Linked DNA regions of Homo sapiens: all the other regions are linked to region 5. The links are contacts of gene promoters, found by promoter capture Hi-C in blood cells and fetal thymus (Javierre and others, 2016). All regions are on one chromosome and are shown on one strand. The core of a region is centred on a gene start or on the middle of the fragment in contact, and the rest is flanking DNA. Distances in the headings are between cores, read along the strand shown. Region 1 overlaps POGZ (pogo transposable element derived with ZNF domain). Region 2 holds the start of SELENBP1 (selenium binding protein 1). Region 3 overlaps PI4KB (phosphatidylinositol 4-kinase beta). Region 4 has its middle 3.8 kb from the start of RFX5. Region 5 holds the start of MRPL9 (mitochondrial ribosomal protein L9). Region 6 holds the start of PSMB4 (proteasome 20S subunit beta 4). Region 7 has its middle 2.6 kb from the start of PI4KB.

The links. The method cuts DNA at HindIII sites, captures the fragments that hold promoters and counts their contacts. A CHiCAGO score of 5 or more calls a contact.
Region 1: a fragment that was not itself captured here is called in contact with the fragment with the promoter of MRPL9 in region 5 in 6 of 17 cell types (endothelial precursors, M2 macrophages, megakaryocytes and 3 more); the score reaches 7.2 in endothelial precursors.
Region 2: a contact is called between the fragment with the promoter of SELENBP1 here and the fragment with the promoter of MRPL9 in region 5, in 1 of 17 cell types (M2 macrophages). The highest score is 5.2, in M2 macrophages.
Region 3: a contact is called between a fragment that was not itself captured here and the fragment with the promoter of MRPL9 in region 5, in 1 of 17 cell types (erythroblasts). The highest score is 5.1, in erythroblasts.
Region 4: a contact is called between a fragment that was not itself captured here and the fragment with the promoter of MRPL9 in region 5, in 6 of 17 cell types (endothelial precursors, M1 macrophages, M2 macrophages and 3 more). The highest score is 7.9, in endothelial precursors.
Region 6: the fragment with the promoter of PSMB4 here is called in contact with the fragment with the promoter of MRPL9 in region 5 in 3 of 17 cell types (M1 macrophages, M2 macrophages and megakaryocytes); the score reaches 8.8 in M1 macrophages.
Region 7: a contact is called between a fragment that was not itself captured here and the fragment with the promoter of MRPL9 in region 5, in 1 of 17 cell types (erythroblasts). The highest score is 5.1, in erythroblasts.

What each region holds. Positions count from the first base shown.
Region 1 is chr1:151,419,291-151,423,225 of GRCh38, reverse strand. The region is part of intron 10 of POGZ (pogo transposable element derived with ZNF domain); the gene reads left to right. Among named protein-coding and RNA genes, the nearest start is that of PSMB4, 22 kb to the right of the region's middle. The HindIII fragment of the contact is 726 bases long and covers 1,068-1,793 here.
Region 2 is chr1:151,370,192-151,373,960 of GRCh38, reverse strand. It overlaps SELENBP1 (selenium binding protein 1), which reads left to right and starts at 1,256. Exons shown (of 12, transcript NM_003944.4): 1 at 1,256-1,323. The coding sequence starts at 1,320. RefSeq lists enhancers at 735-1,318, 1,319-1,902, 2,649-3,319, 3,320-3,769. The HindIII fragment of the contact is 17,083 bases long and covers 1-3,769 here.
Region 3 is chr1:151,311,076-151,314,826 of GRCh38, reverse strand. All of the region lies in intron 2 of PI4KB (phosphatidylinositol 4-kinase beta), which reads left to right. Among named protein-coding and RNA genes, the nearest start is that of PI4KB, 14 kb to the left of the region's middle. RefSeq lists an enhancer at 2,980-3,274. The HindIII fragment of the contact is 5,699 bases long and covers 1-3,751 here.
Region 4 is chr1:151,349,304-151,352,793 of GRCh38, reverse strand. No RefSeq gene overlaps it. Among named protein-coding and RNA genes, the nearest start is that of RFX5, 3.8 kb to the right of the region's middle. RefSeq lists a silencer at 1,394-1,594. The HindIII fragment of the contact is 1,999 bases long and covers 579-2,577 here.
Region 5 is chr1:151,760,938-151,764,779 of GRCh38, reverse strand. MRPL9 (mitochondrial ribosomal protein L9) reads left to right here and starts at 1,284. Exons shown (of 7, transcript NM_031420.4): 1 at 1,284-1,453; 2 at 1,634-1,790; 3 at 2,280-2,404; 4 at 2,625-2,675; 5 at 3,228-3,329. The coding sequence starts at 1,301. It also overlaps a transcript of OAZ3 not described here. RefSeq lists an enhancer at 1,134-1,513. The HindIII fragment of the contact is 8,401 bases long and covers 1-3,842 here.
Region 6 is chr1:151,397,740-151,401,130 of GRCh38, reverse strand. It overlaps PSMB4 (proteasome 20S subunit beta 4), which reads right to left and starts at 1,558. Exons shown (of 7, transcript NM_002796.3): 1 at 1,404-1,558; 2 at 944-1,150; 3 at 543-689; 4 at 286-367. The coding sequence starts at 1,543. RefSeq lists a silencer at 831-988 and enhancers at 757-1,478, 1,829-1,878, 1,479-2,201. The HindIII fragment of the contact is 7,561 bases long and covers 1-3,391 here.
Region 7 is chr1:151,328,106-151,331,870 of GRCh38, reverse strand. No RefSeq gene overlaps it. Among named protein-coding and RNA genes, the nearest start is that of PI4KB, 2.6 kb to the right of the region's middle. The HindIII fragment of the contact is 3,778 bases long and covers 1-3,354 here.

The DNA.
Region 1 (3,935 bases), core at 181-2,680, 340 kb after region 5:
CCTGACTTTTATTTTGTTCAAGCATGGATTGAGTTCAGTGTTAGATCCTGAATTGTTAGGGGCGTTGATTCAGAACCACTGTAGAAAAACAAATGTAATTAATTTATTTCTTAGGTCTCTTTATAGAAGGAACAGTCATCTATTTGCTCTTCCACTTTAGTTAAACCCTGATAGGTTTTATGTAGGCTAAAAGATAATATTGTGAAGTACTTTATCATTAAGACATTGCTTTCAATGAAATATAAGATGAGCTGGAGTGTTTTCTACACTGTATATTTTATACATGTAGGCTGGACATAAGCTCAAAGAAATTAAGTAGGATAAAAGATAATATGGCCGGGCACGGTGGCTCACGCCTGTAATCCCAACACTTTGGGAGGCCGAAGCAGGCAGATCACCTGAAGTCAGGAATTCGAGACCAGCCCGGCCAACATGGCGAAGCCCCATCTCTACTAAAAATGCAAAAATTAGCTGGGTGTGGTGGCGGGCACCTGTAATCCCAGCTACTCGGGAGGCTGAGACAGGAGAATCGCTTGAACCCGGGAGGCGGAGGTTGCAGTGAGCTGAGATCATGCCATTGCACTCCAGTCTGGGCAACAAGAGCAAAACTCCATCTCCAAAAAAAAAAAGATAATATTATGAAGTACTTTATCATTAAGACAGTGCTTTCAGTGAAATATAAGGTAAGCTGGAATGTTTTTCTACACTGTACATTTTATAGATAGATGTAGGCTGAACATAAGCTCAAAGAAATTGAGTCATTTGCTTATGAGCGTACACCTCTAAATACACCTCTACTGGGGATACATAGTGAGGATTTAAGCCCAGTATTGAGAATACTTCTCATGTCCTTTACGGGATTTCCAGTTTTGTTGTAAAGACAAAAATTATGTAAATATAGGAAAATGTGAGAACAAGATAGTATATTATAAACATAGACATTTTAAGATATCATTGATAGGTGAAATACTTCAGAGAAGGGAAAAAATCCTTGTGGCTAGGTTTCCAAGAAAGTCGTGCTTAAATTTAAGAAAGGTTTAGATGGATGGAGAGTAGTAAGAAAAGCTTTTAGGTGATTGAAAACAGCATGATCAAAAGCATAGAAGACATATGCATATTATCTGGATGCATTTGCTACAAGTAAAAATCCTTAACTAAAAATGAATTAAACAATAAGGACTGGGTGTGGTGGCTCACACCTGTAATCCCAGCACTTTGGGAGGCTTAGGTGGGTGGATCAGTTGAGGCCAGGGGAGACCAGTCTGGCCAACATGGCAAAACCACATCTCTACTAAAAATACAAAAATTCGCTGGCTGTGGTGGTGTGCGCAGGTAATCCCAACTACTCAGGAAGCCAAGGCATGAGAATCACTTGATCCCAGGAGGTAGAGGTTGCAGTGAGCTGAGATCGCACCACTGCACTCCAGCCTGGATGACAGAGCGAGTCTCTGTCTCAAAACAAAAGAAAACAATAAGAATATCTGTTATATCATTTAACTGAGAGATACAGAAATGGATGCTTCAGCCTAGAATTTGACTGCCCTGCTGGTTTTCAACAATTCTCTTGTCTCTGGCTCATAGCAGGGTGGCTGTATAAGTGTCAGGCACTATGTCCAGATAAAAAATTGTTAGACAAAGAAGAGATCTTATCTTCCCATCTTTCTTTCTTGAATCTGTTTTCTTATGAGTGAGAATTGCTTTCCTTTTATATCTCTTTGACCATTTATTGGCAAGGGAAGTGGGATTGACATTAATGGCTTACAGTAACACTAGGCAGTAGAAATACGCAAGCTTCATGAGTAATTTTAATTTTTTTCACTTTAAATACAGTAGCGCTCCCTTATCCTCAATTTTTCTTTCTTGAATCTGTTTTCTTATGAGTGAGAATTGCTTTCCTTTTATATCTCTGACCATTTATTGGCAAGGGAAGTGGGATTGACATTAATGGCTTACAGTAACACTAGGCAGTAGAAATATGCAAGCTTCATGAGTAATTTTAATTTTTTTCACTTTAAATACAGTAGCGCTCCCTTATCCTCAATTTTAGTCTCAATCACAGTCCAAAACTAGGTGAGTGCAGTACAATAAGATTATTGAGAGAGACACCACATTCACATAACTTTTATTACAGTATATTGTTATAATTATCCTTTTATATATTATATATTTTTAATTGTTAATCTCTTTGCCTAATTTATAAATTAAACTTTATCATAGGTATATATATATATATATATGAAAAAACACGGTATGTATAGGGTTCAATACTATCTGAGGTTTCATGTATGCACTGGGGGTCTTGGAACGTATATTTCCCATTGGCAAAGGGCGTCTACTGTAAAGTTTAAAAAAACAGGCAAAATTAATTTTAACAGCATATTTTATTCAGTATATTAAAAATATTTCAACATGAACTCAAAATTTAAAATTAATGAGATATTCGTCATTCTTTTTTCCTCCATTAAAAAACAGATCTTTTGAAATACAAATCTAAATTGGGTTTGAGCTTACCACATTTTAAGTGTTCACTAGATACATGTTGCTGGTGCCACCATATTAGACAGTGAAACTTTGGACTAATCATTTGGGAGTAGAATGTATATTAGAATCAACCGGGCCAGGTGCAGTGGTTCACACCTGTAATCTCAGCACTTTGAGAGGCCGAGGCAGGCAGATTGAGCTTAGGAGTTCAAGACCAGCCTGGGCAGCATGGAGAAACCCCGTCTCTACAAAAAAAATACAAAAATTGGGTGTGGTGGCGCACGCCTATAGTCGTAGCTACTCAGGAGGTAGAGGTGGGAGGATTGCTTGAGCCCAGTAGGTCAAGGCTAGAGTGAACCATGATCACGCCACTGCACTCCAGCTTGGATAACAGAGCAAGACTCTGTCTCAAAAAACAAAGAATCAATGGTAACACTGCAGTGTAGTGCCAGGGTAGCCAGCTTGGTCTAGAATAGGACTCACGATTCTTCACTGTCAGTAATGTGAAGCCAGAGTAACTCATCCATACCTCTTAGTGAAAACACCAGTTTTTTGAGACAACAGGGTCTTGCTCTGCCACCCAGGCTGGGGTGCAGTGACGCAATCTTAGCTCACTGCAGCCTCGAACCCCTGGGCTCAAGCAGTCCTCCCACCTCAGCCTCCTGAGTAGCTGGGACTGTAGGCATATGCCACCACACCCAGCTAATTTATTCCTTTTCTTGGGGGTAGAGACAGGGTCTTGCTGTGTTGCCCAGTCTGGGCACCTAACTCATTTTTACGCGTAATATGGGGGGTGGGTTTTGTTATTCCGAAGTTCCACAAATAATAAAATTACACAGAGGGAAGATAAGTTTTTCCTTATGGAAAAGAAACAATGTAGACCCTCATTGATCTTTTTTCTCTTGGTTTCCCTGACTTAATTTTTGAGTCTCTTATGACAAGATTTTATGCTTACCAAAATCACCTTTCCTTAGCATATATCAATTTTATTCTTGCAGTCTTTCGTAATTTCCTTTTTTGCACCCTTGACAGATCTGGCATGAAAGTAGTTTTTTTTTTTTTTTTTTTTTTTTTTTGAGACAGGGTCTCACTCTGTTAGCCAAGCTGGAGTGCAGTGGCACAATCTTGGCTTACTGCAATCTCCACTTCCCAGGCTAAGATGATCCTCCCAACTCAGCCTCCTGAATAGCTGGTACTACAGACACATGCCACTATGCCCAGCTAATTTTGGGGGGTTTTTTGTTTTGGGGGGTGTTTTTTGTAGAGATAGGGTTTTGCCATGCTGCCCAGGCTGGTCTCAAATTATTGAGCTCGAGCAATCCACCCACCTCAGCCTCAAAGTGCTGTGATTACTGGTGTGAGCCACCGTGCTCAGCTTTTTTTTTGGGAGACAATCGCTCTGTCACCTAGGCTGGAGTGCAGTGGCGCAGTCTTGGCTCTCTGCAACCTCTACC
Region 2 (3,769 bases), core at 7-2,506, 390 kb after region 5:
TGAGTGGCGCTGGGGATAAGAGAAGACCCTTGCCCCGGGCAGCCACAGGGAGTCTTCCTTGATGGGCACATGATCCCTCACTGATGGGAGCCAGGAAGACAGATACCCAATGCACCAAGGCCCAATTTTGCTCCCCTTCCCCCACTCTGGTTTGGAAACCCTGTATTCTACTTGCAATCTCAAGCCCAGACTTTATTCTTTTTCCTAGCCAATAAAAACTTCACCCCAGAGCTTTTATCCAAAGAGTATGAATATCTGGAATAAGAGGGCAATCTTAGGGAAGAAGTGACCCTGGCTGATGGGCCCACAGTCCCGGGTGCCCCTAAATGCTAAGAGACAGGTCCAAATACAAAGACGAGCATTTGGAGACACAGGAACACATACGTGCGCAGGCTTACACAAGCACATGCACAGCCACATAGCCACACACTACACATACACAAGCACTTATGCACATGTCCACACAGGCGTAGATACTCTAGCAAGCACATACTCACAGAGGCGCGCACACACACACACACACACACACAGGCGTAGATACTCTGGTAGGCACATACAGAGGCGCGCACACACACACACGCACAAATACACACAAGCACACTCACAGGCACATTCACACACGTGGAAATTCACACACAGGCACAGATACACACTCATGCAGGCACGTGCACGAGCAACACGCAGGTATACAGGAACACACACATGCCCAGACACACAAATCCACACACACCCAGGCACCCACTAAAGAGCACGAGCTGGTCAGGGGCAGCGGCTCACACCTGTGATCCCAGCACTTTGGGAGGCCGACACGGGTGGATCACCTGAGGTCAGGAGTTTGAGACCAGCCTGGCCAACATGGTGAAATCCCTTCTCTACTAAAAATACAAAATTGCTGGGCATGGTGGTGGGTGCCTGTAATCCCAGCTACTCGGGAGGATGAGGCAGGAGAATCACTTGAACCCAGGAGGCAGAGGTTGCAGTGAGCCGAGATCGCACCACTGCACTCCAGCCTGGGCAAGAGTGAGACCCTGTCTCTAAATAAATAAATAAATAAATAAAGCACAGGCTCCCACACATACACACTTAAACACATACACGCACACCCCATAATTCAAACACCAGTTGCCCTAGGCCACTTGAGAGTATCCTGGCCAGCTGCCCTGAGTAGTTTACTCTGGGCTACAGCCCGGGCCCTCCTCCTTCTCTGCCCCACCCCCAGCTGGTTGTATAAATTCCCTCCCTTCGCTCCTTCCCCGGAACAGCGGCCTCTGACACCAGCACAGCAAACCCGCCGGGATCAAAGTGTACCAGTCGGCAGCATGGGTAAGGAGAGGGGTTTCCAATCACCCATTGCCTGCTCTGTCTGCCCCTAATTTGGAAGGCCCTCCTCCAGAAAATGCTAGAAAACCTGAGTGGGGAGCTGGGGAGGGAGTAGTGGACTCTGCTTCATTGTCCCCAGTCTGCACACCCCCTCCCCCACCACCCCACTGCATTTCCCAGCTCAGCCAAACTTTCTGAGGAAGACGGGCAGAGGCACTGCTGGGAGATGGGATCCTGGGCCCTGACTTGGCTCCATCCAGCAGAGGCTGGGACCAGGGTGCCTTTCTGCAGCTGGGAAAATCAGATGGGCGCTCTTAGAAAACACCACTAGGTCCCTGGCCCTCACATAGTAGAGAGGTGATCCTGATTTCAGCCATGGGCCAACTTTGTACTCCAGCGAGGTAGGGAGTCCAAAGCCTTTCTGTGCCCAGGTCACTCTCTAGCTACTCCACACAGCAAAGCTCTCTGGGAGGGAAATCAGAGACCCCCACACTCTTTCACTGGGGACCTGTTTCAATGCCTCCCCCACCCCTAAATCCCCCTTGGCCCTGCTATTCCTCCATCTGTAGGCTTCTGGGTGACAGGCTAAGAAGGAACTGAGGTTTGGTTGGGAGGTCCTTCCCCGCTCGGGGCTGGCTCTTGAGCTGGCAGAATGCCGAGCTGGCAGAATGCCCAGCAGCCAGCCTGACATGGAAAACCCACTTGAGCTTTCCATGAGTCCATCCCAAACCCAAAGCTGCTCCGAGACCTTGCTTGAGATGTTTCAGATGGGGGTATTCCCCAGAAAGAGGAATGATGCTCCCTGGGGCTGCAGTGGCATGCCAGGCCTGACCCTAAGAAATGCTGGGGCTGGGGTTGCTGGGGTGTGGGGTGGGCCGAGGCTGCAGAGCGGGCAGCTCCATCTCTGCACTTTTACTTCCCTCTCAGCTTCTCCCTAGCTTTGTATTTTTTGTATCTCTGTCTTGAGGTCTTGGAGTTTTAAAATCTCCTTTCCCTTCTGTATCCAGCAACCTCCTTCCCCACCCCCTGTCATCTGGTGCCAAGCCCCGACTTAGCAAGATTGTGTAACAGAACCAGTCTCCTTAACTCCTGTGAACTGGACCTCTCTCTCTCTCCCTGCCCCACCTCCAGCCCTCTCGCTGGGCATCGAGCACTCCCTGGCATTCTCCTCTCCTCTGGCACAGCCCTTCCCATATTTACACAGTAATTCATTATTTTTTTTTTTTTTTAGTCAGAATTTCACTCTTGTTGCCCAGGCTGGAGTGACTGCAGTGGCGTGATTTCGGCTTACTGCAGCCTCCACCTCCCAGGTTCAAGTGATTCTCCTGCCTCAGCCTCCCAAGTAGCTGGGATTACAGGTGTATGCCTGTATTTTTTAATACAGGCTAATTTTTAATACAGGGTAATTTTTGTATTTTTAATAGAGACAGGGTTTTGCCATGTTAGTGAGGCTGGTCTCAAACTCCTGACCTTAGGTGATCTTTCCGCCTCAGCCTCCCAAAGTGCTGGGATTACAGGCATGAGCCACCGCACCCGGCCTAATTCATTTTTATGAAAGGCCTTTGGAATACATTGTCTTATTTGTCCTCCATATCTACCTAGCAAAGTAGGTAGAATATCATTATTGCCCACTTTTCGTAAATGAAGAGGAGAAAATGGAGAAACGGGGCGTCAAAACTGGGACTTGAAACCAGGTTTCCAGACTCTGAACGCTGTTGCTGCCTCTCAGCTTCCTAAGTCTCTTGGCTGCTGCGAGTGGGAGTCCCAGGCCCCAGTGGAGGCCCCACTCTGCCTACTCCTGGCTCCCCACTTGCGGCCCAGCTGTGAAGGCAGAGGCTGGACTGGCCACAGGACAAGGCAGGAGACAGGGCCCAGGCCTGTGGACTCCACTCCAGGGTTTCTTTCAGCCTGCCACCCCCTCTGGGTATTCTTTAACCCCTGCTCCCCAGCAGGCCCCAAACTCTGATGCTGGGGTGCTGGTAGCTGTGATGTCCCAGCCCTACTGCACATCTGCTGACTTACATCCTGGAGATTAGCATGGCCCCTCTTGCCAGACTTCAGAGATAGGGAGGGTTGCTCCCTATCTCTCTGGTGGGCAGGCCTCTGGGCTCTCCAGAGTTGGGCCAAACACCTTACTTTACAGATAAAGGAAGTGGGGCACACCCAGGGGTAGAAACCAGCCTGAGGACTTCCAGTTGGTATTAGCCCCAGACCCTCGGTTATGTAATCCAGCCCTTGGCTAGCAGCCTGGGATCAGGACCCAGGGGAGAGAAAAGCAGGAAGTGGCCTCCCCCTGATATAGAAGCATCTTGGTGAAGGGAGCTGAGCAGGCGCCACCCCACTCCCTGAGAGCAGCTCCTCAAGAACAGCCAAGGGTGCCTGGGCTTCGACCAGACAAACACAGAGCTGCACACCTACTGCACCCTCGTGTTTACTTCTCGTAAAAGCC
Region 3 (3,751 bases), core at 128-2,627, 450 kb after region 5:
GGGTAGGGGAGATGTTAGAACATCGGCTTCATTCTCCTGGCCACTCCTCCTCATAATCTAATCCCTTTTCACTACCCTCTGAAGATCCTACCTTTTGTTGACATAAGTGTAAGGTTTATTTCTTATCACTGAGGCATCTGGAGAATGCCTTCATTGCCTGCCTTTCCTTAGGGGGAAGAGTGCCTTGCTGGTATCTTTCCCATACCATTTGGGAGAAGCACAAAGGGAAGAGAAAGCACTCTTAGTATAGAGTAAATATAGTGCCTAGTCAAGGACCTGGAGGCTGGGAAGAAGAGGAAGCTACAGCAGCAGTTGGAGGTATAACTTAGGATATAGAGCAGGGAAGAGGTGGCCACATGAATAGGTTATACCCACTCTTCACTCCACATCTGGACAGATAGCAGGGAAAGCTGCCCAGTGGACTACCAAGTGTCAGTGACCTGGTGTCCCAGCCAGACAATGGTGCTCCAGTCCTCCCCTCTGACTCACCATTGGCCAGGCTCCCATCCTGGCTTCCAACCCAGCCTAGAAAAGAGGGAGAAAAAAAGGAGGAATTTGCACTTTTTGAAAAATGCGGATAGCTATGGTCTTGGCATCTGCCTCTGTGGGGCATATAACCCACCCACGTTTTTGATACAATGGGACTTCTTTCAAATAGAGGGAAGTCAGAGTGACTAGAGAAAAGGAAGAGGGAGGGAGACTATAGAGCCTGCTCTCTGGAAATTTGGAATTTTGTTAGGATAGTTTAATAATGGTAAAGCTAAAAGTGCTAACATTTATTCAGCACTTATGTGCCAGGCATCTTGCCAAGTACTTTACATTTAATCCTCACAACCATGCTGAGAGACAGGTATTATTTTGCCAGCAAGGAAACTGAGGCTTAGAAAGATTAGATGTTTTGCCCAAGGTCCCTCAACTAGTGAATGTCAGACCAGGACTCAAATCTCCAGCTGGTGCTCATAATCATTCAGCTGAACTACCTTGGTTATTTCTCAATATCTACTTCCCAAGGTCCCCAGCTGTCAGAAGCCATGTGGGGAAGAACGGCCCAGGCTATGGCCATCTGAGCTTCCACATCCATGCACAGGCAAAGCCAAAACTGTTGTCAGAACTAGAATGAACCGTTTTCATATCTGGTTGAGCTTGGCAGCAGAGCCCTGGGTCATGAAGAGAAGTTGCTGCAGAACAAGAAGAGTCATCCAGATTCTAGTGGAACATGAAGGGTTGGATAGCTGTCTCATCTTGGAGTCAAACCTGTAGCAGAGGGTGAGCAGCTGGAAGTGAATTCCTTGGTGCCTCTTGTCAGGCTTGGCTTTTCTCTTTATCCATTTTGTAGTGCTCATCTTAGGACCAGAAAAGCTGAGGCCTCAGGGCTTTTCTTACTCTGCTGATCCTTGGTCCCTCTTTCCTTACATCTAACTCCCACTCCAGGATAAGATTATGGATGGCACTGAGAGGCAGGTATTAGGTGAATACTTACATCATTTAGGGTGGGTTCTGTAGCTGCCGTTCTTCCAACCTGACTCCTTATCTTGGGTCACTAGATCCAGGAGAGGAAGGAGATACTATGTTCCCAGGCACTCCTGCGTTATCTGATACTGACAGAATGAAATACCTGAATTCATTATGGCTCCACAGAAAATGGGAGAGCAAGAAAGAGACAGAAACATGAATATCACTAGGTTTCTAAGCATTAGAGTCGTCAGCACAGGGGTCTCTCCCAGCCCTTTTCCTTCCATCCGTCCTTCCTTCCTTCCTTCCTTCCTTCCTTCCGCCCACCCGTCTGTCTGTCCGTCCGCCCTTTTTCTTGCAACAGGGTCTTGCTCTGTTGCCCAGGCTGGCGTGCAGTGGCACAGTCATAGCTCACTGTAGCCTTTAACTCCTGGGCTCAAGCAATCCTCCCATCTTAGCCTCCCAAGTACCTGGGGCTACAGCTATGTACCACCACACCTGGCTAATTTTTAAAAAATTTTTTTGTAAAGATGAGGTCGTGCTCTATTGCCCAAGCTAGTCTCAAACTCCTGGCTTCAAGTCATCCTCTCGCCTCAGCCTCCCAAGTCACTGGGATTACAGGCATGAGTGACTAGACCCAGCCCCTTTGGCATTTTGAGGATGCGTCTGTCAAGGCTTTTGTCCCCTAAATACCAAAGGAATTGGTTTTCCTTTTACTCATCCTTCTTCCCTTTCATGTAACATTCATTCACTCAACATGTAGTTATTGACTTTGTACAATGTCCAAAGCCGTGAGCTGTGCTGTGGAGGACGGGGGATAAAATGTTATCCTTCCCTCTAGGAACATGTGAAGTAATAATGAAAACCCCAGTATCTATGGAACTGTTTAGTTTGTGACTCTCTTGAAAAAGTTGTTTTCTGCCATAAGCAGGAAGTATACAGCTTACTAAAATGAGGCACATAATTATCTAAGACCTAAGCAGAGATACTCTAGGAGAATCTCTAGGTAGACCCTAACACTCTGCTCCCAGTCTCTTGCTTTTCTTTTAGGTTCTGAGTTTAATACTATGCTCCTACCACCAGTAGAGGGGCTCCCAAGGATGAGGTCGGGCCTCAAAGAAGAGGCTCAGGGGCAGCATGTACAGTTCTCTTCCTGCCCATGGTCTCCCTGCAGAGTTGTTCTCTGCTCAGCTCTCACAGTGTTCTCTTTCTTACTATGAGGAATCCTTTACACTCTCTCCCACAGTCAGAAGGCTTTGTGCTGATTTTTCACATTTTCCACCACTGCTCCTCAAAGCCTGCCGCTTCAAAGCCATTTTATCAGCCTAGTCGGGGAACTCTGCCCAGGCAGTTTGTCCTCCCATTTGTAACCAAATGGCAAATATTTTGGTATAGAATGGGGGAGCTAAAAGGAGAGAGTGATTTAGGTATCACACCCTCCCCGATATGATGACACTGTTAGTAGATTAGCTTTGTCTTTTCAGGACTGCAACCTTTGTACAGAGAAATCTGCCGCATGTCACACTGGAAGCCCCAGTAGGCCTTCTAGCTTGATATGGTGTGATGTCAGCTTCTTGCTTCATCTTTACTCCCCGGAGCTGACTCAGTGTGAGTGACTCAAGCCCAGGGAGTAGGAGAGGAGCAGGTCATGATATACCTCCCTTCCCCCAGGGCTGTCAATGAGTCAGACAGGACCTGTCTGTGACAGAATCAGCTGGAGCGTTGCTCAGGGAGCCAATATCTTGCCTGCTGTTCCTTCTCCAACCAGCTCATAGGTAGAAATAGAACCACTAATTCATAATAGACTCTGACATCCTCACTGCCTTAATTCTCCCACCACCTTCTACCCAAAATGGAAGAGTTGTTGCCTTAGGGGCATGTTTCCAAATGTGGCTTCTCCCTCAAAGTGCTCCAGTCCCCAGATTCTTCAAGGAAGGACCTGACTATAGGACCTCCAGCTAGAATAGAACTGAAACCATGGAATTGAGTTCAAGTGGATGCTTGAATCTACTCAGCAGATTTCAGAGTAGAAACTCACCACTGCCCTCCTGCCCTGGGAGCTCTTAGGACTTTGTCTTTTAAGTCTAACCTCCCCCACCCCGACCTCAACGTCCCCCACAACCTAGATTTGTGCACACGTGCTGCTCTGTTCCCTGCCCTGGTAGACCATGTTGGACAGAACCCAGGATGAGCCCTGTGCATGAGTGTTGCCTCAGAGCTGCTGAGTGAGAGTTTGACACCATCTCTTTCCCCTGTTTTTGCACACGGACACATATGACACAGCAATGGGGTGATGTTT
Region 4 (3,490 bases), core at 329-2,828, 410 kb after region 5:
TATAAAAAATTAGCCGTGTGTGGTGACACGTGCCTGTAATCCCAGCTACTCGGAAGGCTGAGGCAGGAGTATTGCTTGAACTCGGGAGGTGGAGGTTGCAGTGAGCCGAGCTTGTGCTGCTGCACTCCAGCCTGCGTGAGAAAGCAAGACACTGTCTTAAAAAATAAAAAAAAAATTCACTCCCAATCTTAGTAGGCAATGTATAATAGTGTCCAAGAGCAAATTCTGAATGAAATGAGAGAGGAGAAAGAAGAAACCAGTCAGGCAGGCAGTTAAGGTGGGTCCTTGGTAAAACTCCTTCAAACAAAGAACAGCCTGAAAATTAAACTGCAGGCCCCAGATAAGTGACAGCCCGCATCCTGGAATGGAAATACCTACTCTAGGAACCCAGATGAACAAATACCACTCCCTTTTTGGACATATTTCACTCTCTTTGGCACACCTTAGTCTCTTAGTTTTCATCTATTTTACATATGCTTACCTTTCTGTGATTGGCCACAGCGGGAGTCTTCATTTACATAGGGTGAATCATCACTTCAGCCCCTGATTGGTTCCAGGCCAAGGTCCTGGCCCAAGCTTTCACTTCAGCCCCTGACTTGGTTCCAGGCCAAGTTGTTGAGCCAAGCCTTCACTTCTGCCTCCAACTGGTTCTTTACACTATCATACCTCTTTCTGAGTGGTGCTTTCTGCAAGATAGCCTGCAGGCCCGATCAGCACACTCCTCCCTTTCCCAGTCCATAAGCCACCCTCCTCACCCTCCCACTCAGCCTCATAGCTGGCAATCCTCTTTCAGGCCCCCTCTTTGCTGAGAGCTTTTCTGTTGCTTAATAAATCTGACTCTGGCTGGTCAGGAGTTTGAGACCAGCCTGGCCAACATGGTGAAACCCCGTCTGTACTAAAAATACAAAAAATTAGCCAGGTTCGGTGGCTCACACCTGTAATCCCAGCACTTTGAGAGGCCAAGACGGGCAGATCATGAGGTCAAGAGATTGAGACCGTCCTGGACAACATGGTGAAACACCATCTCTACTAAAAATACAAAAATTAGCTGGGCATGGTGGCAGGCGCCTGTAATCTCAGCTACCTGGGAGGCTGAGGCAGGAGAATTGTTTGTACCCAGGAGGTGGAGGTTGCAGTGAGCCAAGATTGTGCCACTGCACTCCAGCTTGGTAACAGAGTGAAACTCCATCGCCCCCCCGCCAAAAAAAAAACAAAAAGCAAAATATTGGCTGGGTGTGGTAGCAGGCACCTACAGTTCTAGCTACTTGGGAGGCTGAGGCAAGAGAATCGCTTGAACCCGGGAGGCGGAGGTTGCAGTGAGCCAAGATCATGCCACTGCACTCCAGTTCAGGTGACAGAGTGAGACTCCCCCATCTCAAAAAAAATAATAAAATAAATAAGTAAATAAATAAATAAATCTGACTGCCTTACTCACTCTCCAGTGTCTACACACCTTATTCTTCTTGGTCGTGGGACAAGAATACAGAGTCCACCAGCAGTTGAAGTGAAAATGCTGGAACACTCCCTCCCACTCTCCAAACAGCAAGAGTGAAAAAGCTGCAACAGGCCAGGCATGGTGGCTCACGCCTATAATCCCAGCACTTTTGGAAGCCAAGGTGGGTGGATCATTTGAGGTCAGGAGCTCAAGACTAGCTTGGCCAAAATGGTGAGACCCCATTTCTACTAAAAATACAAAAATTAGCCAGGTGTGGTGGCACACGCCTGTAATCCCAGCTACTCAGGAGGCTGAGGTAGGAAAATCACTTGAACCTGGGAGGCAGAGGTTGCAGTGAGCCAAGTGCAGTGGAGCCACTGCACTACAGCCTGGATGACAGAGTGAGACTCTGTCTAAAAAGGAAAAAAAAAAAAAGCTGCAACGCAAAGAGCCTAGGTGCAGATCCTGGCTCCATAGCTTACTAAATTATGATGTAATCTTGGGCAAATTATTAACCTTTCAATGCCTGTCTCCTCACCTGTAAAATGGGGATAATCATAGTATCTATCTGAGGCCGCACGCGGTAGCTCACGCCTGTAATCCCAGCACTTTGGGAGGCTGAGGCGGGCGGATCACGAGGTCAGGAGATAGAGACCATCCTGGCTAACATGGTGAAACCCCGTTTCTATTAAAAATACAAAAAAATTAGCCCGGTGTGGTGGCAGGCGCCTGTAGTCCCAGCTACTTGTGAGGCTGAGGCAGGAGAATCACTTGAACCTGGGAGGCAGAGCTTGCAGTGAGCCGAGATTGCGCCACTGCTCTCCAGCCTGGGTGACAGAGCAAGAATCCGTCTCGAAAAAAAAAAGAACGGGCCCCAACACATATTAGGCTCTGTATAAATACTTGCTGTTATATGATGCTTATCCGGACAATTTTTATTGTTACTGCCCAAGGCAAGGACCATACCTTATTCAGCTTTGTATCCCTAGCTCTTAACACAATGCCTGGCATAAATTAATAGTTTCCTCTTTCCTATCTCTAGCCTTTTCTTTCACTCAACTCTACCTTCTATAGTGCTGTCAAAATCATCTCTTTTACTAGGTACTATGTACTATGATACTTTCTCCCCCCTTACTAAAGCTTCCAGTTTTTCCCTGTTATCTGCAAATTTTTAAGCTAGATAACTTACCCAAAACTCTGTTTGCAACCAAAGTGCTCTAGGTTCTCCTTCATACCAAACAGTGGTGTTAGGGCTATCTTTCCATCAGTCTATATCCATATTTGGCTTGCTATTTATTTATTTATTTATTTAGAGATGGAGTTTCGCTCTTGTTGCCCAGGCTGGAGTGCAATGGCATGATCTCGGCTCACCCAACCTCCGCCTCCCAGGTTCAAGCAATTCTCCTGCCTCAGCCTGCCAAGTAGCTGGGATTACAGGCATGCACCACCACGACTGGCTAATTTTGTTTTGTTTTTTGTTTTGTTTTTTGTTTTTTGTTTTTAGTAGAGACGGGGTTTCTCCATGTTGGTCAGGCTGGTCTCAAACTGACCTCAGGTGATCTGCCCACCTCAGCCTCCCAAAGTGCTGGGATTATAGGCATGAGCCACCACACCAGCCGGCTTTTTTTTTGTTTTTTGTTTGTTTGTTTGTTTTGAGACAGGGTCTTACTCTGTCACCCAGGCTGCACGACAGAGTGGTGCAATCATAGCTCACTGCAGCCTCGAACTCATGGGTAATAGTGATCCTCCTGCTTCAGCCTCCCAAGTTGCTGGAACCACAGGCATGTACCACCACACCTGGCTGTGTGTGGTGTGTGTGTGTGTGTGTGTGTGTGTGTGTGTGTGTGTGTGTGTGTGTGTTTAGAGAGAGACAGAGTCTCACTTTGTTGCCCAGGCTGGTCTCAAACTCCTGGCCCCAAGCAATCCTCTTGCCTTTGCCTCCCAAAGTATTGAGATTATAGGCATGAGCCATCATGTCCAGCCCGTTATACCCATATTTATTTATGAGTATCTGCAAATATGTATACATGCAGTCTAAGGCAGTGCTCAAAACAA
Region 5 (3,842 bases), core at 35-2,534:
ACACCATAGCTTAGCCTAGCCTATCTTAAACATGCTCAGACAACTTATCCGACAGTTGGGTAAAATCATCTAACACAAAGCCTATTTTATAATAAAGTGTTGAATATTTCATGTAACTTATTGATGTCCTACTGAGTGCACATCACTTTCACACCATCACAAACTCAAAAATTGTAAATCCAAGTCAGGGACTATCTGTAATTTAAAGGTAGAACCCACAGGATTTCCTGATGGAGTATGAGAGAAAAGAGTTAGAATGGAAAGAATGGAGTTTCTGTCAACTGAGAGGAAAAAGGCTGCAGATGGGGCAGTTTTGGGGGCGAGGGGGGAATAAATAAATTAGTTTGGGACAGTTAACTTTGAGGTGTCCTTTGGATACGTAAGAGGAAAATGACGAATAAACAGTTGAATATTTGAGACGAGTTTGGGAGATGTCTAGGATGGAACTAGAAATTTGGGAGTCATTGGCTTATAAATGGTATTGTAAGCCACGAGACTGGATGAGATCAACAGTGAGTGTATACTGAGAAGAGTAAAGGTTCAAAAACGGAGTCCCGAGGGCATTCTAAGAAGCGGGGAGAAAAGGAGAAATCAGCAAACGAGACTGAAGAAGACCGGTGTCCAGGAGGCCAAGTAGTGTATTTAGGAGGAAGGAGGACTGGTCAGTATGTTTAAGGGCCAGTCTTTCCATAATCTCTGCCAAATGGACCTTCTTTCATCCAGTTTTTATGGTCTTCTGTCCAGTACTGAGACCCTCCCCAGAGGGAACTGTCGCGGCCTTACCATAGTTGCTTTTTTTTCTACGGTTTACATAGCTTGTGATTTAGAATTCTCCTTTATTAGCTTAAATACTGCAGTATAATGATTAAGGGTCAGGCTCCTCCTGGAGCTGGCAGAGTTTTCCAAGGGATCCCATCCTTTACCACTTTTAGGTAGATTTGAAGTAAGGAAAAGTGAGAGCATCATTCATTCTCCGGTCAGTATCCAGTCATCACAGAACGTTAGAATTAAAAGTTAGCCCAGCAACTGGAGCTACAGCAAAGCCCACACTTTCAAGAGGAAGAGCGTCTTTTCCGGCGTCAGTCCACCTAACACTCATTCCATTATCAGTCAGTAATTCTAGGCGTCCGTCACCTCTGCCAAAAAGCAAAAATAGGCAAGCCGCGGTGCCATCTGTTCCCCGGCCCGCTCCCCATACTTTCGCTCAGCCGTACCGGCGCGCCGCAGGCAGCACTGGCGGGGGCCTTTCCTGCCGCCGACGCCGGGGTCCTCCCTCAGGTCTCATTCTGTGCCTGTGAACATGGCGGCGCCCGTTGTCACGGCCCCGGGCAGAGCTCTGCTGCGGGCGGGCGCTGGACGGCTGCTTCGGGGAGGCGTCCAGGAGCTACTGCGGCCGCGACATGAAGGGAACGCCCCTGACCTGGCCTGCAACTTCAGCCTTTCTCAAAATCGGGTGAGGGCTGAGTCTGGGGTAGGGGGTAGATACGCTCGAGTATTGTTTCTGGAGGCGCACTGGGACCTGGAGGGGGCCGATGTGGGGGTGGCGGGCTTTCCTTGAGGGGCTGGCGGCCGTGGTGGAGGGAGAGGGTGTTCCTTGTGGAGACTAGCTTACCGTCGCTTTCCTGGCCGCCAGGGCACGGTCATCGTGGAGCGCTGGTGGAAGGTACCGCTGGCCGGGGAGGGCCGGAAGCCGCGCCTGCACCGGCGACATCGCGTCTATAAGCTGGTGGAGGACACGAAGCATCGGCCCAAAGAAAACCTGGAGCTCATCCTGACGCAGTCGGTGGAGAGTAAGGCCCGGGCCGAGGCGCTTCCTCTCAGGCTGGTCCGGTTTGGCATCAGCTTTTTCTAGCCCGTCCCCCTCAACTATTTGCCTTGCTTTTTCTTTGTGGAAACAATCCAACTCTATATGTGAGAAGAGGAAGCCATAAAAACTATTGTGATTGTGACACTGGCCTCCAGCATTGAAAATTAAAACATAAAGGCAGCAACATCATTAACAGTGTGTGGGGAGAGGAGCCTGACAATTTGTGCCACAGATACTGAAATCCTCCATGGGACGACAACTCCCTCTATACAGGGGATATTAAATTTATACATCAAGTTCTAAAGAAACTAATTAGCAGTCTCTTAAATCTTGTTCCTAGTGAATATGAATTAGCATTTCTTTTAGGAAAAATAAGCACTGTGAGAAACTAAGAGGTGCTTCTCTTTTTGACATCTTTTCTTTAGGGACTCCTAGATGGTTCTAATTCCCCTGTCTCTGTTCTAATTGACAGATGTTGGAGTCCGGGGTGACCTGGTCTCAGTGAAGAAATCTTTAGGCCGGAATCGACTCCTTCCTCAGGGACTGGCTGTATATGCATCCCCTGAAAACAAGAAGCTGTTTGAAGAGGAGAAATTGGTGAGCTCAAAGGAAGGACAGAGAGACTTGGGGAGATAAAACTTCTTTTCTCTTGCAGCTTCCTTCCCTTTGACATTTAACTTAACTTGAAAATGAAATAGGAACTAGAAGAACAGGAATGCAGAAGCCCAGCCAATGTCCAACATAGGAATAGTTTGATGCTATTTAACATGGGCTCATTTTTCTTTTACTGCTTTTCATCTTTAACTTTCTTTTCTAGCTGAGACAAGAAGGAAAATTAGAGAAGATCCAGACCAAGGCAGGTGAGGCGGTGAGTAGAAACATAAAAAGTGTTTATTTGTCACAAGACTTACCAACCTCACCCTGAGAGTCTCCCTGATTCCCTTGAGGTCTCCTGATTGCAGACCCAAGAGTGGGAGAAAGGGGAAGTGTTGTGGCTGCCCCACAAAACAGGTATGGAGACCTCTTGGGAGATCCCTGATGTGTTGGGTGAAGTGCCTTAAAGTACCAAGGGAGGTCCCAATCTGGGAATCAGGGAACCCATGGAATAGTCTGAGATGAGGGCTCTGCCTTCAAGGATATTTACGTACAAGTTGGAGAGAACATGGACACATGAGAAGATAATCAGTACAGGCACCCGCCACCATGCCCGGCTAACTGTTGTATTTTTGGTAGAGACAGGGTTTCGCCATGTTGGCCAGGCTGGTTTCAAACTCCTGGGCTGAAGTGACCCACTTTGGGAGACCCACCTTGGCCTCCCAAAGTGCTGGGATTACAGGCATGAGCCATCTTGCTTGGCTTGCATACCCTGTGACCCTGACATGTTTCCTCTCCTTTGACTCAAACTCATAATTCCTTTCAGACAGTGAAATTTCTAAAAAGCTGTCGCCTGGAGGTAGGGATGAAGAACAATGTCAAATGGGAGCTGAACCCTGAAATAGTTGCCCGCCACTTCTTTAAGAATGTGAGTGAGTGTTCCCAAAAACCACTCTACCCCTGAGGTGGAAGCTGCCTCTGGAAAGGAGGCCTGGGATTGATCCCTTTGTTAGGAAGGGGTGTGATCATCCAGTTGTAGTTAAGGAAAGTATTCTTGGTTAGTTTGCAGGAATATGGGAAGGAAATGGCTAAGGACTAAGGATGGTCACATAGAATTTGAAGACTGATAGGAAAAGGTGGTGGTTTCCATTTATTTCCTGTCTACCTAGGGAAATGCTGGGGATTTGTGACTCACTGGAGAATTGTTACTTTTGTGGATGAAGTGGTTTTGGCCTCAAGCCCTGTTTCTCTTTGTGAATCTACCTCCCTTTCTGAGAAATCAGAATTGAATTTCTCTACTACCGTCTATGAAGGTGTATGCCCTTCTCTCCCATGGAATCAGCCAGAGTAGACACCCCAGTTTTATTCATCCCTGTGCAGGGAATCCTGTAACCCTCTTTATGAGGTTCCCTAGAGTGGCAGTCATGAAAACAGAGTTCAT
Region 6 (3,391 bases), core at 309-2,808, 360 kb after region 5:
CTTGCCTCACCAGAATGAACTCTGCTTAGAAAATAAGCTAAGAGCCACTTCAGGAAGAAGTTCTAGGGTGTCCTCTCTTTGCATGTCTACTGACTCCCAGTCATGTCATCTTGTCACTGGAATCAGTGTCAACACCTACAGCCCCCAGACTACAAAGAAAACCATCTGCCCAGTAATAGCGATCCCAGCCCATCCCTCATATCAGAATTTCAGGAGAAAAGCAGACAACCACTAATCCATTTCCTTTTGTCTTCCCTTTCCCCCACCTCTAGACTTACTACTTACCTGAGCCAAGTATGCACCATAACCAGTGGCCAGCGAAGGGGCTTCATAGGCTACACCAAGCATGTCCACATAACCGAGGAAGCTAACAGGACACAATGGGTCAAAACTCATTTCACCTTAGATTCATCTTAGCTGAAGAAGGGGACCATGGGGTCTGAGTTAAAGTGGGATTCACTTGGGGAGAAGAGACAGAAGAGATACTACACAGGTACTAGGTTGGGTGGTAAAGGAAATAAGTTATTTGTATTCATATGAACCTCTCTCCATCAGCATAGCCTCCGATGACCATGGTGTTCCACAAAGGGTTCATCTTCGAGCGCCGGCTGTACATGGCCCTGGTCAGCCATGAATGAATAGCTCTAGGACTATAGCTGTGTCCATCTCCCAGAAGCTCCTCATCAATCCTTAAAAGGAATTGGTTGTGAGAAAAGGGAGAGAATTAAGTCGGGGTCTCCACCCATCCCCAAAAGAAGTTACCACACCTTCCCCCATTTTACACCTAATGCCAAAAACTTTATTGCAAACACAGATCGCCCACCTCCAACAACTCTTCCAGTCCCCCGCTGCAACAAGTCCCCCCATCCCATCGAAGGGAATAAAAAACAGGGGACTCCCCTCTCTACTTGGGAACCACTCTCCTGTTCTCTGGATGACTTACACCATCTGGCCGAGAACTTGCTTCAAATACTGGAAATCAGCGTAGTCGCCAGAGGCACCCAGCATGGTACTGTTGTTGACTCGCATAATGCGAGAGATGTTGCGGAAACGAGCCAAGGAGCCGTAGGATCCCAGCATGTCTGCGGCAATCACCACTCCGCCCTCGAACTTAACGCCGAGGACTGAGGTCCCGGTCACCATGGGGTTCCTAAAGAGTGAGAACGGTGGGAGCTGAGAGGGGGGATGGACTGCGCCCTCTTTCCGCGCACTGAGCTGCGCTTCTGATTTTCTATAATTCCTTCCAATTATTCTGCATTCTCCAGGACTCCGCGCCCTGAGCTCCCCTGCCGTTCGCGCGCCCCCGGGGTCCCCGCCTCACCTTCCCGGGCTCTCAAAACCAGCCGGCAGCACCAGGCCCCACGGTCCCTCCCGCTACGCAAACGAAAGCGCCGAGAACTTACTGGGTCCGCGTGATTGGACCTCTGTAAAGTGCAGACGCCGGATCCATGAAGGAATCGGGAGTGGACGGAATGCGGTAAAACTGTCCTGGGGCCGGACCCCCCGCCCAAAGTCCGGACCGCGACCCCAAAAACGCTTCCATCTTAGTCACGGTAGCAGAAAAAATGAAAGCGCTTGCGCCAACGGAAGCGGAAGTGATCCTTCAGTGTCATTTCTTTCTTTTTCCTGTAGACGACTTCCAGCAGCCATGTTGATGAGGTCGTAGCTGAACATGCAGTAATCCTAGGTGGCGACCGAGACAGGGAGTTGAAATTGCCCAACATCGCTTCGCATCGCATCGCATCTCCGTGGAGTTTGGACCAGATCACAGCGTTCTAACACACGATTCAAGGAGGAGGGAGGCATGAAGGTGGGGTGGGGAGGTGGCCACTTAAAGACGCTGATCCTGAGTGAGACGTCACAATTTTTTATTTTATTTTTTATTTTTTTGAGACGGAGTCTCGCTCTGGCCCCCAGGCTGGAATGCAGTGGCGCGATCTCGGCTCACTGCAACCTCCGCCTCCCAGATTCAAGCGATTCTCGTGCCTTAGCCTCCCGAGTAGCTGGGATTACAGGCGCCTGCCACCACGCCTGGCTAATTTTTTGTATTTTTGCTAGAGATGGGGTTTCACCATGTTGGCCAGGCTGGTCTCGAACTCCGGATCTCAGGTGATCCGCCTGCCTCGGACTCCCAAAGTGCTGGGATTACAGGAGTAAGCCGCCTCGCCCGGCCTAGAAGTCACAGTTCTCATGTTCCTTTTGTATCATTATCAAAAAGCCCACATGAAAATATCAGTGAACACAGGATCTCTTACATCTGTACTCCTCAGAGCAGCCCCATGTGGCAGGCATTATTCGACCCATTTGGTAAATAGGAAACCGAGGCTTGCGGTGTAGTGATTTACCCAGTCACACAGCCGATAACGGTAGAACTGAATCTTGAAGCTAGAATAAAAAAAGGAATCAGGGCCGGGTGCGGTGGCTCATGCCTGTAATCCCAGAACTTTGGGAGGCCAAGACGGGAGGATCACTTGAACCCAGGAATTCAAGACCAGCCTTGGCAACATGGTGAGACCTCACCTCTACAAAACAAAACAAAACAAAAAATTAGCCAGGCCTGTAATTCCAGCTACTTGGGAGGGTGAGGTGGGAGAATCGCCTGAACCCGAGGGAGGTTGCAGTGAGCCAAGGTGGCGCCACTGCACTCCAGCCTGGGCAACAGAGCGAGACCCTGTCACAAAAAAAAAAAAAAAAAAAAAAAAAAAAAGAATACACTTGTGTATACCCTGTGGGGTGTGATAGCTCAGGTGGATCAAGCACTCTCTGTGGGACCTTAGACAAGTCTGAAAGTTTCCTTATTGTCAAGGGCCCTTGCCCACCTCTAAAGAAACAGAAAAATTCCATTGGAAGTGTAGGGGTGAAACTAAATTCCAGGGGTTTCCTTCTCAGTGTAACTCCATAGCAGGGGCTGGAAACTGTCTTGAATCAAACTGGTGAATTTTGTCAAAGATAAACAAAGCCGGACACTAAAGTGGAAAGGACAGATTTCAATCAGTAATAACTACTACAATAAGGAAAAACAGTTCAGCATGAACTGAACTCAACTGCAATTTGTATGCAAGTAATGGGTATTTTATAGGGAAAATGAGGTTAGGGGACAGTGAGACAGAGGGTCAGTAGAGTCAGGGAAGTGAACATTTACAGAATTAGTCAATGTAAATGTGCTTAGGTCAATGATGTCTGCTAGCTGGCATTTATGGAAGTTAGGATTCCATCCTCCCACAGAGACTGGTGAGGATACCATCCTCAACACTGTCCTTAGGTGTCTTTTGTTTGTTTGTTTTTTGAGACAAGGTCTGGCTCTGTCACCCAGGCTGGAGTGCAGTGGCATGATCTCGGCTCACTGCGACCCTTGCCTCCCCGGCTCCAGCGATCCTCCAGCTGCAACCTC
Region 7 (3,765 bases), core at 216-2,715, 430 kb after region 5:
GGAGGAAAACATAACTTAGTCAAAATATTTATTTAAAAAATATTTTTGGCCGGGTGTGGTGGCTCATGCCTGTAATCCCAGCACTTTGGGAGGACGAGACGGGTGGATCACTTGAGGTCAGGAGTTTGAGACCAGCCTGGCCAACATGGTGAAACACTGTCTCTACGAAAATAACAAAAATTAGCTGGGTGTGGTGGTGGGTGCCTGTAATCCCAGCTACTTAGGAAGCTAAGGCAGGAGAATGGCTCCAACCCGGGAGGCGGAGGTTGCAGTGAGCTGAGATGGCACCACTGCACTCCAGCCTGGACAACAGAGTGAGACTCTGTCTCAATTAAAAAAAAAAAAAAGAAAAAGAAAAAAATATATATATAAAATATATATATATATATATATGAACTAAATCATTTTTGAAAAATAACTATATTTTCCGAAACAAGAAAAAAAATCAATGAGACAATTGGCATTGTTTTTAAAGGGGGAAATTTCTTTAATGTCAGACTGGGTTCTCATATCTGCTTCTGCATTCAATCTTTGTGTGTGTGTGTGTGTATGTGTGTGTGTGTGTGTGTCTCACTCTGTCACCCAGGCTGGAGTGCAGTGGCATGATTGCAGCTCACTGCAACCTCTACCTCCCAGGTTCAAGCAATTCTCCTGCCTAAGCCTTCCCACAGGTGCATACTACCACGTCTCGCTAATTTTTGTGATTTTGGTAGAGACACAGTGGCTCACACCTATAATCCCAGCGTTTTGGGAGGCCAAGGTGGGCAGATCACCTGAGGTTGGGAGTTCGAGACCAGCCTGGGCAACATGGTGAAACCCCATCTCTACTAAAAATACAAAAATTAGCTGGGCGTGGTGGCGTGCACCTGTAATCCCAGCTACTTGGGAGGCTGAAGCACGACAATCGCTTGAATTCGGGAGGCAGAGTTTGCAGTGAGCTGAGATCACGCCACTGCACTCCAGCCTGGGCAAAAAAGCAAGACCCTGTCTCAAAAAAAACAAAAACAAAAAACAGAAGATGATAAAAAAAAAAAAAAGAAACCCTCCCGAAAACGGCAGAAAGACAGTCATAAAGGGATGCAAAGAAATTTATACATATGGGCCAGGCACAGTGGCTCACGCCTGTAATCCCAGCACTTTAGGAGGCCGAGGCGGGCGGATCACGAGTTCAAGAGATCAAGACCATCCTGGCCAACATGGTGAAACCCCGTCTCTACTAAAAATACAAAAATTAGCTGGGCATGGTGACGCATGCCTGTAATCCCAGCTACTCGGGAGGCTGAGGCAGAAGAATCGCTTGAATCCAGGAGGTGGAGGAGGGTCCCTTGAGCCAAGATTGCACCATTGCACTCCAGCCTGGGCGACAGAGGGAGACTCTGTCTCAAAAAGAAAAAAAAAAGAAAGAAAGAAATTTATACATATGAACCCTTAGAGCTATAAATAGGAAACTTAAAATCTTCTACTTATGTTTGTGTGTGTGTGTATTTTTAGTAGGGTGGTCTATAACTGACTAGCTATAAAAAGTTCCTGCTTCAAATTTGAAGAGATGTTTCTGAAATTTTTTCTGTCATTGGAAAATAAGAAAACTTCCTACTATAAAAAAGGTTGTCACATGTCTTTCTACAATGTTTCAAAAGGCTAGTCTTGTGGCTGTTTGGAAGGTTATCCCTTGAGGGGATACATGACATTTTAAACTCTAGGCTAAAGCAGGGTCATCGCCTCATGATATTTGCGGGACAGCTGATTGGAAGCTGGCCAAGAGCTGGTGGGCCTAACATGTGGACTGGTGATTCTCCCCAATCCAGACCAGTGGTGAGAATTTTTTTTTTTTTTTTGAGATGGAGTCTCGCTCTGTTGCCCAGGCTGGAGTGCAATGGCGCAATCTCGGCTCACTGCAACCTCTGCCTCTCAGGTTCAAGTGATTCCCTGCCTCACCCTCCCTAGTAGCTGGGATTATAGGCACCCACCACCATGCCCAGCTAATTTTTGTATTTTTAGTAGAGACAGGGTTTCACCAAGTCGGTCAGGCTGGTCTCAAACTCCTGACCTCGACTGATCCACCCACCTCGGACTCCCAAAGTGCTGGGATTACAGGCGTGAGCCACCACGCCAAGCCGATTTTTTTTTTTGAGACAGGGTCTCACTCCGTTGTCCAGGCTGGAGTGCAGTGGCATGATCTTGGCTCACTGCAGCCTCTGTCTCCCAGGCTCAAGTGATCCTCCTACCTCAGCCTCCTAAGTAGCTGGGACTACAGGTGCATGCCACCATGCCAGCTAGGCTAATTTTTGTATTTTTGAAGAGACGTGGTTTCACCATGTTGCCCAGGCTGGTCTCAAACCCCTGAGCTCAAGCAATCTGCCCACCTCAGCCTCCCAAAGTGCTGGGATTACAGGTGTGAGCCACTGTGCCCAGCTGACAAATTTAAACTATCTTTGGCACTCTTGTCCCCATTCTTTGTTCATCTTTCATACTGTACTCCTGCTTTAACCTAGCTTGTCTGCTTGCCCTCTCCTCATGATATGAGCAAATTCCCATTTATATTCTTCAACATACAATTTTTTTGCTTTCAGAATGCTCGCTTGTCTTTTATTTTGCTGGGTTATATCCAATATCTATTCTAAGACCTGACTCACAATATTTCTAAGAAGCCTTCCATTCATTCATTCACCATATACTGGTGTGTGTGTGTGTGTGTGTGTGTGTGTGTGTGTGTGTATGTGTGTGTGTCCATACACATATAGGCCTTCCAAATTAACTTAAACTCCACTATGTCCCTTCAGCAATTAGGTTAGGTACCCCATTTGTTCTACTGTTGTATATACTGCATGTTTTACACAGGCATTTTCAAGCTATTACACTTTATTCTGCCTTCCAATTAAACATTGTAGCAGTGACTCTTTCATCATCTATCCTGTATGATTGTCCCAATAATTAATAATAAAGTACTATAGTAGCAACTTGTACTCTCTTGATCCTAACAAAACCCTGTAATGGGCTAATATTACTTCATCCATATGTCTTCTTTGTAGACATAGAAACTGAGGTTTAAAGAGGTTACATTAGTTATTCCAAATCAAACGGCTTGTAAGTGGCAGGGAAGATGGCATTCAAGACCCGGGCTCAAATAACTAGCCTCAATGTATTAAGTAAGGCACTAATGAGGGGCATTGCATATTAAGTAAAGCCCTAGGAAAGGCATTGAGATAGAGGTTCTGAGGACAAAGAGGGCTCTAAATCAACAATCTTAACCGAAAAATACACAAAAAACTTGCTGGGCGAGGTCGGGCCTATAATCCCAGCACTTTGGTACCTGAGGCCGGCAGATTGCTTGAGGCTAACAGTTCGAGACAAGCTTGGGCAACATAGCAAGACCCTGTCTTTACAAAACAAACAAACAAACGAAAAATACACAAAAGCAACACCAGAGGCCCATTTGCATGGCGTGTTTTTGTTTATTTGTTTGGCCTAATATGGTTTCGTTTTGTTTGGAAGAAGGGATTGTGCCCTCCAAGCCTTTGTCGTTTCACTCACCTCTCCCAACCTGGCCCTGTCCAGCCCCTCCCTGGAGGGCTGGGCATATGGATGCTGGAGGTCACAGGCTGCCCAGGCAGGTTGGTGACCTCGGAGGCAGAACCACGGCCTCGAGTCGGGCCTCTAACGGCGAAAAGACTGACGCGGTTGGACCGCGCCATTCCCGAAATGTTAAGGAGCTTAAACTCCGCATCGTCCTCCAAGATAAGTAGGAAAAGGGCAGTCAGAAAGAAC